4 separate regions of the Homo sapiens genome follow, and all the other regions are linked to region 3. The links are contacts of gene promoters, found by promoter capture Hi-C in blood cells and fetal thymus (Javierre and others, 2016). All regions are on one chromosome and are shown on one strand. The core of a region is centred on a gene start or on the middle of the fragment in contact, and the rest is flanking DNA. Distances in the headings are between cores, read along the strand shown.

Region 1 (2,700 bases), core at 86-2,585, 160 kb before region 3:
ATATACAGAAAGTCAGCAAGATGACTCATAAGTACAGTCACTGAAATAGCTCAGCTTTTGTATACGGTGTGACAGATCTGCCAACAACTAACTAATGGAATAGAATAATGAATCACTTGGGACTAAAGTTATTTAAAAGTTCCTGTGAAGTACACCTCCATAGGCAGTTCCAGAAAATGCCATTGACTTTCAGCAAACATGGCTTTTGGTATAAGCGGGGAAATCACAGGAAAGTCACTTACTGGTGAACTCACAGCACCAGCTGCTTTTGCGGTCCTGTGGGCCTCCCTCACATTCACCTCCACCTGCCTGTCAGGGAACCACTGGGGTTCAGTGGTTAAACTTCTGGGACCATGCCTCTGGCTAAGGGTGAGGCACCCACTCCCCACCCTTCTCCTTTCTTCTCTTGTGCAAGCCTCAGGCCACTGAGGGCCCTTCTCCCTTTAAAGACAACACCATTCATTTTTTGTTTGTTTGTTTTATTATTATTATACTTTAAGTTTTAGGGTACATGTGCATATTGTGCAGGTTAGTTACATACGTATACATGTGCCATGCTGGTGTGCTGCACCCACTAACTCGTCATCTAGCATTAGGTATATCTCCCAATGCTATCCCTCCCCCCTCCCCCCATCCCACAACAGTCCCCAGAGTGTGATGTTCCCCTTCCTGTGTCCATGTGATCTCATTGTTCAATTCCCACCTGTGAGTGAGAATATGCGGTGTTTGGTTTTTTGTTCTTGCGATAGTTTACTGAGAATGATGGTTTCCAATTTCATCCATGTCCCTACAAATTTTGAGACGGAGTCTCTCTCTGTCCCCTAGGCTGGAGTGCAGTCGTGCCACCTCAGCTCACCGCAACCTCTCTGCCTCCCGGGTTCATGTGATTCTTGCCAGTGGCACTCATTTTATCTCTGACTTCTCTTCTCTAGTCCAAGGATGGAGGTGCAGATTGCTTGTCCAATGCAGTCTTTGCTCTTTCCTAACAAAAGCACTTATTTCCTTTCCTGGCTAAGCCTTCACTGCAGATGACCTCAGGAAGGCAAGCAGGGCTTGAAGGCAAGAAGAGTCAATGCAGGAAAGCCTCAGGGCTTAAGAAATCCCGCCAAGTTCTCACCTCCCGGAACCTGGATACAATTCCTGACCCCTGGAAGGTCCCTCAGACTCTGCGTACTCTGCACCTCACTGTATCATAAGCTCTGAGCTCTCCTCTCCCTGGGATGGGGATGGCGCAGAGTTGATCATTCCTCCATGAGACCTCCCTCCCAGCGCTTATACCTGCAGCTCCAGTGGGGACTGAATGATGAGTCAGCTACTATCCCCTCTGGCACCATTTGTCTGAAGTAAATAATTTAATTTTCGAAGGCCCCTAGACTGATGACACATCTTTTTTAAGTATTCCCTACTCCATAGAGAAATGATTCTCTCCAGGATTTTCCTCACACTCCCCACAAAAAATCAGACTAAAGTCAGGCCACCAGGTTTCCAGCCCTTCCTCTGCCACTTGCTTACAACCTGTGTGACCTCCGGCACATCACTGAACTTCAGTCAGTCTCAGTTTCCTCACCCGTAGGACTGTGGTGGTCTCAAAGAGATCGTCTACTCAGCACAGGCCCTGGTATACAGTGAGAATTAACACCAGGAGTCTTGCCAATATCTGCTGGCCAGGATCCAGCACCTAAGGGGGCAATGCCTGGCCTGGCAGTGGGCCATCTGGACTTTGCTCCATCGTGGCAACTGGCGTCCATTCAGATTTGTCAGCCCATGGGGCATCCTGGTTGCTAAACATTTTTAATCTTAGTGCTGTTTGTTTTTAATCTTAATGTTTGTACTGTGTGTGCTAAAAGCAAAGTCACACAGAGAAATATATACTAATGGGTCATCAAAGCACTGGGGAGGAGAGAGAGGAATCGGCAGGAGCATGGAGGGACAGGAGGGAGCAGGATGGCAAGGTGTCTTTTGTCTGCAACGTGGTAGGCAAACAGGATCTTAATGGTTTATGGTGTAACAGAGGAGTGTAGGGAAGATTGTTGTGTTGGTTTCCTGTGGCTGCCAGAACAGATTGTCACAAACTGAATGGCCTAAAGACAATAGAAATCCACTCTCTCATAGTTTTAGAGGCCAGAACGTTCAAGCTCTCTCTGAAGTCTCCAGGAGAGAATCCTTCCTTGCCTTTCTAGCTTCTGGTGACTGTAGGAGTTCACTGGCTTGTGTCAGTGGAGCTCCAGTCTCCCCCGTGTGTCTCTGCATCTTAAATCTCCTCTGCCTTTCTCTTATAAGGACACCTGTCACTAGATTAGGGCCCACCCTAAACCCATGATGATCTCATCTTGAGACCTTTCATGTCATTGTATCTGCAAAGAACGGTTTTTTAAATAAGGTCAAATCCACAGGTTCTGGGGGTTCAGATTTGAACATATCTTTCTGAGGGCCACTATTCAACCCATTACAATTACATACAAAAGCAGAGGCCTTTGCACTCTTAGTCTTTAACTTAAGCACATATGCAAAGCCCCTTTGGCCATGTAAAATAGCATAATTAGGTTCCAAGGATTAGGAGGTGGACATCTTTGAGGGGCCATTATTCTGTCCGCCATAGTTGGAAGCATGGGTTTCTTTCTAAGAACAGTAGGAATCAATGGGAGGTTTTAAGCAGAGGAGTGAAACCAGCAGAATCAGGATGCAAAAGCAGAAGAACCA
Region 2 (2,700 bases), core at 181-2,680, 150 kb before region 3:
AGCATGGTGGCAGGCGCCTGTAATCTCAGCTACTTGGGAGGCTGAGGCACAAGAATCACTTGAACCCAGGGGGCAGAGGTTGCAATGAGCTGAGATCATGCTACTGCACTCTAGACTGGGAGACAGAGTGAGAATTGGTCTCAAAGAAAAAAAAAAAAAGCGAAATGATCTTTTTTAGACACAAGAAAACTCTTGTATTGGCTAATGGGGGTGGAGTGAGCATGGAATGCACAAAATTTAGGAGAGACTGAGGAGCAATCAGCCCCAGGGAATTTAACAGCCTCAGGCCAGAACAAGAAAGTCTTGGGGGACAGACCTTCCCACGTGTGCTGGATTCCCCTGCACTCCACCCTGGGGTTCAGGGTGAATTGCCTTTAGTTTGCACCTTGGTTGAGAGGAGGCCACTGGGCACAGAGAGCGGCCAAGGATTAATGACCTGGATCCCATTCGGATGACTGTGTCCACCAAACCCTCACATCCTTCCTTCTCCAGCAGTACTAAGGTGACTATCTTCTCAGCTAGCTTCACCCCCATCTCTGGGTTGGTCAAACCACCAGATTTTCTCCTGATTCACGCTCTGAGGCACACTGTGCAAATTAATCATAGATGCCTGCCTGTGAGAGGGAAAGAATCCTCTACAACCATGGGTCAAACCCAAATCTATGGAGTCCACGGCTTTTTCTTTTTTTAATCTTTCTCCTATCTGACTGCGTGATGGTTAGTATCTGTTGAGTGCCAACAGACTTAGGTGAGGATCAATAGAAAAATGTGGGCCAGGCATGGTGGCCACCTCACTTTGGGAGGCTGAGGTGGGAGGATAGTTTGAGGCCAGTAGTTCAAGACCAACCTGGGCAACACAGTGAGACACCCCCCGCCACCCCCAAACTCTGCAAAAAATTAAGAAATTAGCTGGGCGTGGTGGTGTGCACCTGTAGTCTTAGCTACTCAGGAAGCTGATGCAGGAGGGTGTCTTGGGCCAAGGAGTTCAAAGTTGCCATGAGCTGTGATCATGACACTGCACTCTAGCCTGGATAACAGACGAAGACCCTATTTCTTAAAAAAAAAAAAAAAAAGAAGAAGAAGAAGAAGGAAAGAAAAAAGAAAGAAAGAGGCCAGACGCAGAGGCCCACGCCTGTAATCTCAACACTCTGGGAGGCCGAGGTGGGCAGATCACCTGCGGTCAGGAGTTCAAGACCAGCCTGCCCAACATGGTGAAACCCCATATCTACTAAAAAAATATAAAAATTAGCCAGGCATGGTGGCAGGCGCCTGTAATCTCAGCTACTTGGGAGGCTAAGGTAGGATAATTACTTGAATCCTGGAGGCAGAGGTTGCAGTGAGCCAAGATCGTGCCACTGCACTCCAGCCTGGGCAACAGAGTGAGACTCTGTCTCAAAAAAAAAAAAATCCAAAAAAAAAAAAAAGAAAGAAAAGAAAAGAAAGAAGGAAAGAAAAGAAAAGAAAGAAGGAAAGAAAAAGGAAAGACATAGAATAGTTGGGCACAGTGGCCAAAGGAAGTGGAAGAGGAAGGGGTGAAAAAGGAAGTATTTCTTGGTCGGGTGTGGTGGCTCACGCCTATAATCCCAGCAATTTGGAAGGCCAAGGTGGGCGGATCACCTGAGGTCAGGAGTTCAAGCCCAGTCTGGCCAACATGGCGAAAACCTGTCTCTACTAAAAATACAAAAAATTAGCCAAGCGTGGTGGTGCATGCCTGTAATCCCAGCTTCTAGGGAGGCTGAGGCAGGAGAATCGCTTGAACCCAGGAAGCAGAGGTTGCAGTGAGCCGAGATCACGCCACTGCACTCTAGCCTGGGCAACAGAGTGAGACGCTGTCTCAAAAAAAAACAACAAAAAAAGGAAGTATTTATTTCAGGTCTAAAGAAGGCCTTGAGGAGAGAAAACAAAAGAAAAGAAGGTAGCTAATTAAGTGAGGGAAGAACAACTGTGGGCCCTTTGCAGGGAAGATGTGTGGCAATCATACCACTAGCTACCTAACATTAACTGAATACTTAATATGTGTTAAGAATTTGTTATAAGGACATTGCCTATATTATCTCATCTAAGCCTCCCAACTGTTGACCTAAGGAAAGAAACTGAGGCAAAATTAATATAGTTTATTTGGGCCAGGGTTGAGGACTGTAGCCCAGGACACTTCCAATTTGCCTTGGGGAATGCTGCCTTTGGCCTTTGTTACTTTGTTACAAGCAGGTTTTAAAGACAAAAAGGGGACAGGGAGTGGTCTGATAAAAAAATCTTTTGGAATCCTCATTAGTTTACAGAAGTAACATTAACGAGTGATTGGGTATACATTGTTGAACTATAGGGTATGAGTTATGGTGTCCAGTGTATGCAATTTTATGGAGTCTTGGCATCAGATACTCTAGAGCTCACATAAGCAAGTGGCTTCAAGAAGTAATTATTTAGCTCAAGGGGCAATGAGACATGACTTCTGTCACACATTGTCATGTTTCAGTGCTGCTTTGGGCCTGATAATGAAAGGAGGCCTGCATTCCTCAGATAAGAAGTTTCTTTCTCACAACCCCAAAGATAGATATTATCATTCTGATTTTGCTGATGAGGAACCCAAGACATAGATAAAGTAGATTGTTCAAGGTCCTGAAATGAGTGGTGGGTCAGAATGCAAATCCACCAAGGCGGACTCTAGAACCCAAGTTACATCTCCACCCCTCCCACCCACCC
Region 3 (2,700 bases), core at 180-2,679:
GGTTCTGAATGTGGAGATGGCCTCTTCAATGGATTCCTAGGGAGAAACAAGAGATCATGGGGCTCCTACCATAGCATGTGGGAGAAAATATTAGAACAAGCCTGATTTGCAAAAACCTAAAATCCAAAGCATGTTCAAGTCTGTGAGACTATCTAGAACACAGTTTTAGCTCTTTCTCCCAAGATAAGGTCCAATGACCATCATATTTTGATCATTACTCCTTGGTGTCTGACAACTCCCTGCACTGCAATTTACATCCTTTAAAACCAGCATTGTTGGAAATGGACTGACTACATTGTGAGGGTCAGAATGTGAGTGTCTTTCAGATACTGTAATGTGTGATAGGCATCCCTCCAGGGTTGCTATACAGCTCACCCCAGGTCAAAGAACTACATCCCAGTCCAAACAGTATCCACATGAGAGCTGATAGGCATCAACGTTACTCACCTGCCTTTGCCAGACAGTTAATCCACCTATATGTGGGACAGAGCCTTGGTCTGGAAAACACTTTCAAGCCCACTGTCTCACTCTCTTGTCACTATAAATAACCTGGTGAGTTGGCAGTCCCGGCGTGAATGCCCACAATTTGCAGGTATGCAAACAGAACAGAGGGGCTAAGTTCCGTGGGTCACATGAGAGCTAGGCTGCAGCGCCTGGGGAGGCGGCCGTTCCCGCCCGGTGCGCTTGTTGTCCGCTGGAGCAGAGGCCCCCGAGCCTGCTGACCTCTCTGCCTTCAGGCCTGGTCTCGCAGTCCCTTGTGCCTCGCCTATAGGCAGGCGGAATCCAGAGCGTGCAGCAAGCCCGGCCGGCTCTCGGTGGCGGTTTCTACAGCAGGTGGGGCCTGGCTCCGTGATTGAGCGGCCTCTACCCCTCTATCTGGGGCCCAGCAGCGGCCCCCTCCCAGCACCCTGGCTACACGTCTAACCCTAGGCTGACCAGGTGGGGCTCTCGGAGGCGTTAGCCCCAGCCCTCCCAGGAGTCTTAATGTTCCTCTCACAGGAAAAAACGTTCTGCGCCCTTTGTGCCCCAAACCCTCGACCCTTCACTCGGCGAGAGGGGTCGCTGAGGGAGAGATCCACCTCTGCCCTTCCCGTTGCCCGCCGGTTCTTCCTCGCCCGCCTCTTACGCACCCCGCTCCCGCCGGCTCCTGGAAAGCCGGCCCCGGCCCCAGCGCTTCCCTCCCCGGCCTAGCCCCTCTCTCCCACCCTTCCGCTCGCCCAGGCCTTCACGCTCAGCTCCCGGTTTTTGTTGCCCGGGCTTGTTTCGGAGCTGAGCGCGCCGCCGGCCGGGCGCCAGGTCACGTGCGTTGGTGACAACCTCTCGCAGGGCGGCCCCGGGGCCCCCGCACCGCCGATTGGTGGGGCCCGGCCTGGCGCGGCCCGGGGCGGGGCAGCGGGGCCCGACGGCGAGCGGAGCGGCCGATCAGCTGTTGCGAGCGCTGCACAACAACAAAAGGACTTGGACTGGCCGGCCTGGGCGCAGCGACCCGAGGGCTGGAGCCGGCCCCGCGCCTGCCGTCTGGGTACCTGAACGAGGTGCAGCGCAGCCCGGCCCCACCGCAGCTACCTCAGCAGTCCCGCCCCGCCCGCGTCCTTCCCCGCCGAGCCGGCGGCCGCTCCCTTCCCCGCGCAGCCCCGCACGGCCCGGGCCCACGTAAGTGCCGGGGGGGGGCGGGCGGGCGTCCGTCCAGGGCCGCCTCGCTGCCGGTTGGGGCCGCAGCGCTGCCCGCTCCTGAGCCCGGCGGGGCCGGCCGCGCGCCCTGCCTTCGGGGCGCCGGTTGCGCGTTCACCGAGCCCCCTCGCTGCCTCCCCTCGCCGCCGCCGGGCCCGGCCGCCCACCCAGTGGGTCGGTCCTCGGCGGCCCCCGGGGCCCAGGGCGCGGACAGAGGCTGACAGAGGCGGCGGCGGCGCGGACAAGGGCCCGGCCTGGCCCCGGCGCTGGGCGGCGGTTGGGAGTTTGGTCTCTGCCTCCTCCCCCGAGCGTGGCTTGTTTTCTTGGCCGCGGCGGGACCTCCTCCTCTCACCCCTCCTCACTCCCCTCCACTCCTCCTCCTCCGCCTGCTCTCGGCCGTTGGATGGGGCCGCCCCTTCGGGACTCGGCGTCGGGGCTCCCGCGGCCACCCCCGGGACGCATCTCCGAAGACAGCGGCGCTTGGGCTTGTGGCCCGGCGCTCTGTCCCCGCCCTGCGATCCCGTCCCCTGCGCCTGCCCTCCGAGTTCCGGAGGCCCTGCGGCTATGGGGAACCTGCTCCGTGACCCGGCCACCGGCCCCCGCCTGTCCGCGGCCTGTCCCTTGCTTGACCTGGCTTGAACTCAGTCTTCGCTACCTGACTTTGCACCTGTGGAAAGAGCGCTCTCCTTGGCCCTTAACATTTAGATCCTTTGGATCGCTCACGCTTACTGAGCGCTGAGTATGTGCCATATACTATGCTGGGGGCTTTGCTTTATCGCCCCAGTTGATTCTCATAATAACCTTATATGAAATAGGCCCGGCTATCTTACACATAGGAAACCCGAGGCACAGAGAGATTAAGTTGCTCAAGGCCACACAGCCAATTAATAAAAGGAAATGGTGTTTGTATTTCAAAGTGGCAGCTGAATTTTACCTGGAGAGTCTGTTTTGCTTGTATTTTCTGATTATATCTGCTCAGTAGGTTAATTCCAATACAGAGTGGATTAAGGAAGAGCCTCTTTACAACTG
Region 4 (2,700 bases), core at 12-2,511, 220 kb before region 3:
GGCCTGTACTCCATTTGTCATCATGCAGGTTAAGGAACTCAGACCACAGAGATATACAATAAGAAAAACAGTCTCTATTACTGTATTGGGCTCCAGAATGTAAACAAGTGGCTTCTAGTAAGATGGAATAAGACTTTTAAAATGAGAAGAATGAACAAGCAAATGTTCATTCAACTGGAGAGTGACCACTGGTGAAAAATCTTGTAAAATAAAGACGTTTGGCTCCAACTTGGAGACGATGGTCATGAAAACATTGTAAGACAAACTAACGATCAGGAGGTCAGCAAAAATAATCTACCTATTACCTATCATGGGACTGAACTTCCCAGTCTATATAGACTCCTGTTTTTTTTGTTTGTTTGTTTGTTCATTTTTTGAGATGGAGTTTCGCTCTTGTTGCCCAGGCTGGAATGCAATGGCATGATCTCAGCTCACTGCAACCTCCATCTCCCAGGTGCAAGCGATTCTCCTGCCTCAGCCTCCTGAGTAGTTGGGATTACAGGCATGTGCCACCACGCCCGGCTAATTTTGTATTTTTAGTAGAGACGGGGTTTCTCTATGTTGGTCAGGCTGGTCTCGAACTCCCGACCTCAGGTGATCCACCTGCCTCGGCCTCCCAAAGTGTTGGGATTACAGGCATGAGCCAGCATGCCCGGCCAGACTCCTGTTATTATCACAGGAGAACAAAAGGAATAAAATAGTGATGAGTTAATATTAAATAGTTTTGTCAACTTCCATCATGGAGAAATCCAGATAAATTCAGAATGTTTAAACAACCCAAGGGTCAACAACTGAGAATTTCACATCTAATATTCACCGTGTGAATTCATTAGTCTCCGTAGCTCTTCAGAGCACTAAATTTTACCTTAGGTCCCTACGTAGACCTTTATTTTAGTTACCTTTTAATTCTCTAGTCTGTCCTCCTCTTTCTGAATTACTTTTCCCTGGAATCTTTAATTAAAGAAGACAGAGCATGAATAAATTTACAAATCAAGAATAATGATGTCTCATTTAAGGATTTTCAGGTGATGTGGTCACTGCAGCATCAATGATGCACATATATTTGGTTTCTAAGTGATGCAGGATCTGAATCTAAATTGCAGGAGGTTTATGACAGTTGATAATCATCATTTATTAAAAGGAAGCATAACAAACAGCTACTATACTTATCTGTTCACATCAGATGCAAAAAAGCCAAATGTACAAAAAGATCCATTCCTTAGTACCTGTGTTACTGTTCAGATGTTCCTGTGGTATAAGCCTGGGCAGACCTTAGTGTTCTGAAGTTTTCTCCCTCTTCTCAGCACCTTCTCTCTCTGTCTCTCTCTCTCTTATGTCTCTGTCTCTCTTCTCTCTCTCTCCTCTCTCTCACCTATCTCTCTACTCCCATCCCCTTATTTCTCTCTCTCTGTCTCTAGCTCTCATTCTCTCCTATCTTTCTTTCTTTCTTTCTTTCTTTTTTGAGACAGAGTCTCACTCTGTCGCCCAGGCTGGAGTGCTGTGGTGCGATCTCAGCTCACTGCAGCCTCCACCTCCTGGGTTCAAGCAATTTTCTGCCTCAGCCTCCCGAGTAGCTGGGACTACAGGCACACATCACCACACCAGGCTAATTTTTGTATTTTTAGTAGAGACGGGGTTTCACCATGTTGGCCAGGCTGGTCTCGAATTCCTGACCTCAAGTGATCCGCCCACCTTGGCCTCCCAAAATGCTGGGACTATAGGCATGAGCCTCCGCATCTGGCCTCTCTCCTAGTTATCTCTCCTCTCTTCCCCTGCCACTTTGTCTCTCTTTCTCTCTCATTGGGTATCACTTCTGACTCCTCTGTAGCTCTCATCACTTTATGTTCTCCGTGCCAGGAATGTCCATGCTCCTGGTCTCCTGCCTGGTCTGCCCTCAGTCCGCCCTTCTCGCTGGCATCAGGGAACTCTCATTGCGTCACATCTCTGCATAAAGTCTAAAGTCCTGAGTAAGTGCTGCAAGGCTTCTCATAATCTGGCCCCACCTGACAGGCAGGCACTCTTCCACAAACACTGCATCCCAGCGGCACTGACCTACTTAGTTTCTGGACCCTGGTATCGTGAAACTCCCTCTGTGCCTCTGATCATGCTCTTTGTTCTGTGGGAAAATCATTCCTCCTCAGTCCAAGGAAGGCTACCTCCTTCTAGAAGGCCTGGAGTCCCACTCTACCTCCTCCCATGCACTAGACGACTTCTGGAACTCATTCTTTTAGAAAACTTGTAGCCAGCTAGTGTCTCCAAACACCAAATTCCCATTTTCTTTAGTCAAGGGCCAAAATGCAGGCTTCTCAGGTCATCTCTTTGGCTACACTCTAACATCCACAAGAGATCTGATCTTCCTCGCCATTCACCAACCTCTCATTGCTCCCTCTCTGCATAACCTTTATCTGAGCCCTCTAGAACTTCATTCCATGGTAAAAATCTCTCATCTGAAGCCATATCACCAATGGGTCCTTCTCTCCACCTTGCTCATCCTTGCAGGGACACTGCGTCTCCCCTGTTCTCCTCTCAAGGGGATGCCACTTATTCTCCCTCACCCCACAGACTGCACCTAGGAGTTGAGAGAAGAACCACAATGTCAGTTCCAGGTGACATTTCCTCTATTCATTCAGGCTGATGCCAAACCAGCCTTTACAGTCCACATTGCCAATGTCAGATGCCAACCTCCAGTCATTCCTCCTC

What was found. Contacts are between HindIII fragments. The CHiCAGO score rates a contact against its expected background, and 5 or more counts as called.
Region 1: a fragment that was not itself captured here is called in contact with the fragment with the promoter of TP53INP1 in region 3 in 4 of 17 cell types (neutrophils, monocytes, total B cells and 1 more); the score reaches 18.2 in neutrophils.
Region 2: a fragment that was not itself captured here is called in contact with the fragment with the promoter of TP53INP1 in region 3 in 1 of 17 cell types (neutrophils); the score reaches 8.3 in neutrophils.
Region 4: a fragment that was not itself captured here is called in contact with the fragment with the promoter of TP53INP1 in region 3 in 3 of 17 cell types (naive B cells, total B cells and neutrophils); the score reaches 8.5 in naive B cells.

What each region holds. Positions count from the first base shown.
Region 1 is chr8:95,111,944-95,114,643 of GRCh38, reverse strand. It overlaps a transcript of NDUFAF6 not described here. Among named protein-coding and RNA genes, the nearest start is that of PLEKHF2, 20 kb to the left of the region's middle. The HindIII fragment of the contact is 8,286 bases long and covers 1-2,700 here.
Region 2 is chr8:95,093,125-95,095,824 of GRCh38, reverse strand. It overlaps a transcript of NDUFAF6 not described here. Among named protein-coding and RNA genes, the nearest start is that of MIR3150BHG, 21 kb to the right of the region's middle. The HindIII fragment of the contact is 6,887 bases long and covers 1-2,700 here.
Region 3 is chr8:94,948,107-94,950,806 of GRCh38, reverse strand. It overlaps TP53INP1 (tumor protein p53 inducible nuclear protein 1), which reads left to right and starts at 1,429. Exons shown (of 4, transcript NM_033285.4): 1 at 1,429-1,653. It also overlaps a transcript of NDUFAF6 not described here. RefSeq lists enhancers at 574-623, 794-963, 830-1,459, 1,460-2,088 and silencers at 1,084-1,193, 1,274-1,653, 1,874-2,013. The HindIII fragment of the contact is 4,012 bases long and covers 1-2,700 here.
Region 4 is chr8:95,169,379-95,172,078 of GRCh38, reverse strand. The region is part of intron 1 of LOC124901982 (a long non-coding RNA gene); the gene reads right to left. Among named protein-coding and RNA genes, the nearest start is that of PLEKHF2, 37 kb to the right of the region's middle. The HindIII fragment of the contact is 5,000 bases long and covers 1-2,700 here.